Linked DNA regions of Homo sapiens: region 1 is linked to region 2. The links are contacts of gene promoters, found by promoter capture Hi-C in human tissues and cell types (Jung and others, 2019). All regions are on one chromosome and are shown on one strand. Each heading gives the region's core, a stretch centred on a gene start or on the middle of the fragment in contact. The rest is flanking DNA. Distances are from core to core; before and after follow the strand shown. Region 1 holds the start of OR7D2 (olfactory receptor family 7 subfamily D member 2). Region 2 overlaps FBXL12 (F-box and leucine rich repeat protein 12).

Region 1 (2,700 bases), core at 141-2,640, 630 kb before region 2:
GAATTATAGAGACAGAAAGTGGTATGGTGGTTCATTAGGGGCTGGGGAGGGTGAATGAGGGATGAGTGTTACGGGACAGAGTTTCAGCTTGGGGAGATGAGAAGATTCTGAATATGGAGGATAGTGATGGCTGCTGTGAATATACTTAATGCCACTGAATAGTACACTTAAAATGGTTAAGATGGTGAACTGTATGTTATGTATATTTTACCATCATTTTAAAAATTGAAAAAAACTTTTTTCTTATTGTTCAGTTCCTCCCAAACTTGCCATCAATGAAATTTTCCCCATCACTCTACCCAGATCGCTGTTTCTAATGTTTTCCATGCCATTAAATGTGATGGATATTCTTCAGCCTTTATTTTGCTTAGCCTTATAGCATCGTTTTACATGGTTGTTAGAAATAAATCTTGGAGTCATAAAGAAAAATGAGCACTCAAACAAAGGATTTCTCAGCAAAGCAAATTTACTTCTGCGCAGAAGGGTGCTTCTCGTAGGGTTGGCTGCTACAAGAGCACCCTGAACAAAGGAGAGTAGCAACTTTTATTCTTAATGCGACTCTTGACTTTGTGTGTCCTTTCCCCATTGGCTGGGGTCGGACAGCACAATCTAAACTAGACTTGATTGGTTACACATTTAAACTGTCTTAGATAAGGTGGGTGTGTGATGGGAGACAGAGGAGAGGAGGAAGGGGTCTTCTACAGAGGAATAGACAGCTAGTCTATTCTTAAATAAGGAAAGAAATGTGAGCTGGGGCTATGGCATATCTGGGCATGCAGCAAAATCAGAAAGAAGAAAAGGAGAAGAAAGTGTGTGGGGGGGGTACTTGGAATTAGAGAATAAGAAGCTGAGCAGGCTGTTTGAAGAGAAATCTTGCTGTATCTCGCAATGGTTGACTCTCCCTCTCTTGAAACAGGACTTACGACATGTCCACAGCCTGTTTAACGCCCTGCAGCCAACGCGATCACAGGGGATTCACGGAAATAGTTGCATCTCTATTTTCTTCTGTGTTACCTTGAGACCCTTAGGCACTGGGATTACAGAGAGATGGGTCTTTGTAGCTTCTGCGACACATTCCAGAGGGGAAAACCTCTTTATCTCAAAGCCAAACCAATAGTGATGAAAGCTCTTCCAAGAATAAAGAGGCCCCAAGAGGGTGGGAGGTGCAGAGAGAGTCACCTGGCTTCAGAGCTGCCTTCTTGGAAACAGAATTAGAACACATCATACCTTTCTGCCATTTGCTCTTGATCCCAAGGGAGCCGAATGGGTTGGAGAGTAGAACATCACTGGAACAGTGGATTTAATGAGGAAGGATGAGACATCAGCTCCCTGGGGCTTGAGAAACCATAAATACTTCCCTAAAACACCTCACCTGGACAGTTTCCTGACGCCACACTCATGCATCTTAGAGAGGAGAGTTAGGATGACTTCATGACAAGTTCCATCTCCCCGCCTTTCCCTGCTAGATTCTGTCTTCAGCATTCAACAGTCAGGGGAGGAAGACGTCATACCAGCATTTTTTTTTTTCAAGCAATGTCAGTTGAGTGACTCACACTATCCTTGTTAGTACCGTGTGTGAAAAGGATTTAAAAAGTAGTGTGGGGAGGAACAGAGATGGAGGTAACAGGGTTGATAATGTCTCATGATTTTTAAAATGTCTCTAGGATTCCCTTACCTGGTTATAGATGTCTTAAGGCATTGCAACTTTTGGGAGGCTGAGGCAGGCGGATCGCTTGAGGCCAGGAGTCTAAGACAAGCCTGGCCAACTTGGTGAAACCCCATCTCATCTAAAAATACAAAAATTAGCTGGGCATGGTGGCGGATGCCTGTAATCCCAGCTACTCGGGAGCCTGAGTCAGGAGAATGGCTTGAACCCGGGAGACAGAGGTTGCCATGAGCCAAGATCACGCCACTGCACTCCAGCCTGGGTGACAGAGTGAGTGAGACGCTGTCTCAAAAAAAAAAAAAGATTCTATTGCAACTGTTTCTGTCACCTCCACCTCTGATGGCCTTTCATTCTGGAAACTAGTGACTTTCTCAATGTCAGTAGGAACTGGCACTTCCTTGAGTGGATTCCTTTCAGTCTACCTGCTAACACCTTCCTTTTTCTTCTCTAGTATAATATAATAGTTCTCGGCCGGGTGCAGTGGCTCATGCCTATAATCCCAGAACTTTAGGAGGCCGAGGCGGGTGGATCACAAGGTCAAGAGATCGAGACCATCCTGGCCAACATGGTGAAACCCTGTCTCTACTAAAAATACAAAATTAGCCGGGCATGGTGGTGTGTGCCTGTAGTCCCAGCCATTTGGGAGGCTGAGGCAGGGGAATTTCTTGAACCTGGGAGGCAGAGGTTGCAGTGAGCTGAGATTGCACCATTGCACTTCAGCCTGGGCAACAAGAACAAAACTCCGTCTAAAAAAAAAAAAATCAACAAAGCAAAGCAAAACAAAACAAGTATGTATTAAATGTTCACTCTGCACCAGATGTTACATATATTATCATTGCAATTGTGAATGGACTTTTTTTCCTCTTATTTTTTCTCATGGCTGTTTGCAGATACATAAGAAAGCTGATGACACTGATTAGTTGTAATTAATTGTGTTTAAGTTGACTTTTTTTTTTTTTGAGACAGGGTCTTTCTGGGCTCAAGCAAACCTCCTGCCTTGGCCTCCCAAGTAGCTAATTTTTTAAAAATCTATT
Region 2 (2,734 bases), core at 23-2,522:
AATTTCAGGTGAGGTGGCTCATGCCTGTAATCCCAGTATTTTGGGAGGCCAAGGCAGGAGGATCATTTGCACTCAGGAGTTAGAGACCAGCCTGGGCAACACAGTGAGACCCCCATCTCTACAAAAAATAAAAAGTAGCTAGGTGTGGTGGCACATTCCTGTGGTCCCAGCTACTTGGGAGGCTGAAGTAGGATGGCTTGAGCCCAGGAGTTCGAGACCAGTCTTGGCAACATAGGGAGACTCCTGTCTCTGTCTGTCTACCTGTCTGTCTATCTATCTATCTATATTTATTTTTGAAACAGAGTCTCTCTCTGTTGCCCAGGCTGGAGTACAGTGGCACAATCTCGGCTCTCTGCAACCTCCTATCTATCTATCTATATTTATTTTTGAAACAGAGTCTCTCTCTGTTGCCCAGACTGGAGTGCAGTGGTACAATCTCGGCTCTCTGCAACCTCCCACTCCAGGGTTCAAGCGATTCTCCTGCCTCAGCCTCCTGAGTAGCTGGGATTATAGGCATGTGCCACCAAGTCCAGCTAATCTTTGTATTTTTAGTAGAGACGGGGTTTCACCATGTTGGCCAGGCTGGTCTCGAACTCCTGACCTCAGATGATCCTCCCGCCTTGGTGTCCCAAAGTGCTGGGATTACAGGCATGGGACACACCGTGCCTGGCCCCATCTCTATTTAAAAAAAAAAAAAAAAAAAAAAAAAAGGTTGGGCGCAGTGGCTCACACCTGTAATCCCAGCACTTTGGGAGGCCAAGGTGGGCAGATCACAAGGTCAGGAGTTTGAGACCAGCCTGACCAATATGGTGAAACTCCAACTCTACTAAAAATACAAAAATTAGCCAGGCATGGTGGCACACGCCTGTATTCCCAGCTACTTAGGAGGCTGAGGCAGGAGAATCATTTGATCCTGGGAGGCAGAGGTTGCAGTGAGCTAAGATTGCACCACTGCACCACTCCAGCCTGGGCAACAGATCAAGACTCCGTTTCAAAAAAAAAAAAAAAAGAGAGACAGAAAGAGAAGGAATTTCTACTGCAACTCTGAGTGGGAAGAGCATGGGAGGAACATCTCTGGCTCTTCTCTGATGGGTAAGCTTGGAATAAGAAACCAAGTGTACCCAGCTCAGCTCTCTTCTCCAACCTGGCTCTAAGCACCAGAGGAGGCACCTGGGCCTGCTGAGCAGGTGGTGAACCCACAGAGCCGGGGCTTAGCCACACACAGCAACGCTCATCTCACGGGTAGGCACTCACACTTATAATCTGACACCTGCATCTTTCAAGTGGTTCAGACTCGAAAGGCAGGAAAAGGTGGTGTTACTTACTGAACCCCTAAAGCCTGAGCCACCTGCAAGGCCCTGCCCACTCCTGTCCCCATTATCTCCTTTTGTTTTATTTTTTTTTTTTTTGAGACAGGGTCTCACTCTGTCACCCAGTCTGGAGTGCAGTGGTGATCACAGTTCACTGCAACCTCCGAGTCCCAGGCTTAAGCAATCCTCCCACCTCAGCCTCCTGAATAGCTGGGATACCAGCTGGGTAGATGCACACCACCACACCTGGCTAATTTTTTCTGTAGAGACAGGGTTTCACCATGTTGCCCAAGCTGGTCTCAAACTCCTGAACTCAAAGTGATTCACTTGCCTCAGATGTCCCAGGTTGGCCTTAAACTCCTGGGCTCAAGTGATCCACCCACCTCAGCCTCCCAAAGTGCTGGGTTTACACATGTGAGCCACCATGCCCGGCCCTGACCTCAACTTCGACAGCTCTTACCCCTGCTCACTCTGCCACACAACCTTCTTTCTGTTTCTGGAAAATGCCAAGTTCATTCTCATCTTAGCAGTGCTGGCCTTTCCTCTTCTGCCCTAGCTCTTCTGATCTTTGCTTTCTCTTCACCTCTCAGATCTCAGCACAGAGGCCTACCGTGCTCACTCAACCATGCAAGTATGCCTCCATCACGTGACCCTGGTGTACTGGCTCAGAGTCTCCAAAATTACAACATGGTGGCCGAGCGCAGTGGCTCACACCTGTAATTCCAGCACTTTGGGAGGCCGAGGTGAGCAGATCACGAGGTCAGGAGTTTGAGACCAGCCTGACCAACATGGTGAAACCCCATCTCTACTAAAGATACAAAAATTAGCTGGGCGTGGTGGCGGGTGCCTGTAATCCCAGCTACTTGGGAGGCTGAGGCAGGAGAATCACTTGAACCCGGGAGACGGAGGTTGCAGTGAGCCAAGATCGCACCACTGCACTCCAGCCTGGGTGACAGAGTGAGACTCTGTCCCCACACAAAAAAACTAAAGCATGGACTGGCTTACCTGTTTGTTGTCCTGTCTTCTCCTCTATGAGATCTACGAGGGCAGGGTCTTGTCAGTTTTGTTCACTGTGGTGGCCCAGTTTCCCAGAACCTAGAACAGTGCCTGCAAAATAGCAGAAGCTCAAGAAAGATTGGTTGAATGAATAAACTGAATACTTCTCGGGAAAAAAAAATGATTTTTTTCTTTAATAGTAAAATAATATACGTCTTGGAAAATACAGCATACAAAATACAGAAAATATAATTGAGCACTTTTATGAGCATATCGATCATTGAATCGCGAGTCTGCATCGCCTATCTCTCCGCGTCTCTTGCGTGCGTGTAGGTATATAAATGGTGTATAGGCTTGTGGGTGTGCATGCATAGACAGTCCTTCTTGGGTACTCATAAGGGGGCTCAGACCCTCAGGTGCCCCTGAGT

What was found. Contacts are between HindIII fragments. The study calls those that stand out against the background at their distance.
Region 1: a contact is called between the fragment with the promoter of OR7D2 here and a fragment that was not itself captured in region 2, in 1 of the 25 tissues and cell types used here (dorsolateral prefrontal cortex).

The regions. Positions count from the first base shown.
Region 1 is chr19:9,177,589-9,180,288 of GRCh38, forward strand. It overlaps OR7D2 (olfactory receptor family 7 subfamily D member 2), which reads left to right and starts at 1,391. Exons shown (of 3, transcript NM_175883.4): 1 at 1,391-1,535. The HindIII fragment of the contact is 33,183 bases long and covers 1-2,700 here.
Region 2 is chr19:9,807,797-9,810,530 of GRCh38, forward strand. It overlaps FBXL12 (F-box and leucine rich repeat protein 12), which reads right to left. Exons shown (of 3, transcript NM_017703.3): 3 at 2,474-2,734. Among named protein-coding and RNA genes, the nearest start is that of FBXL12, 9.9 kb to the right of the region's middle. The HindIII fragment of the contact is 6,151 bases long and covers 1-2,734 here.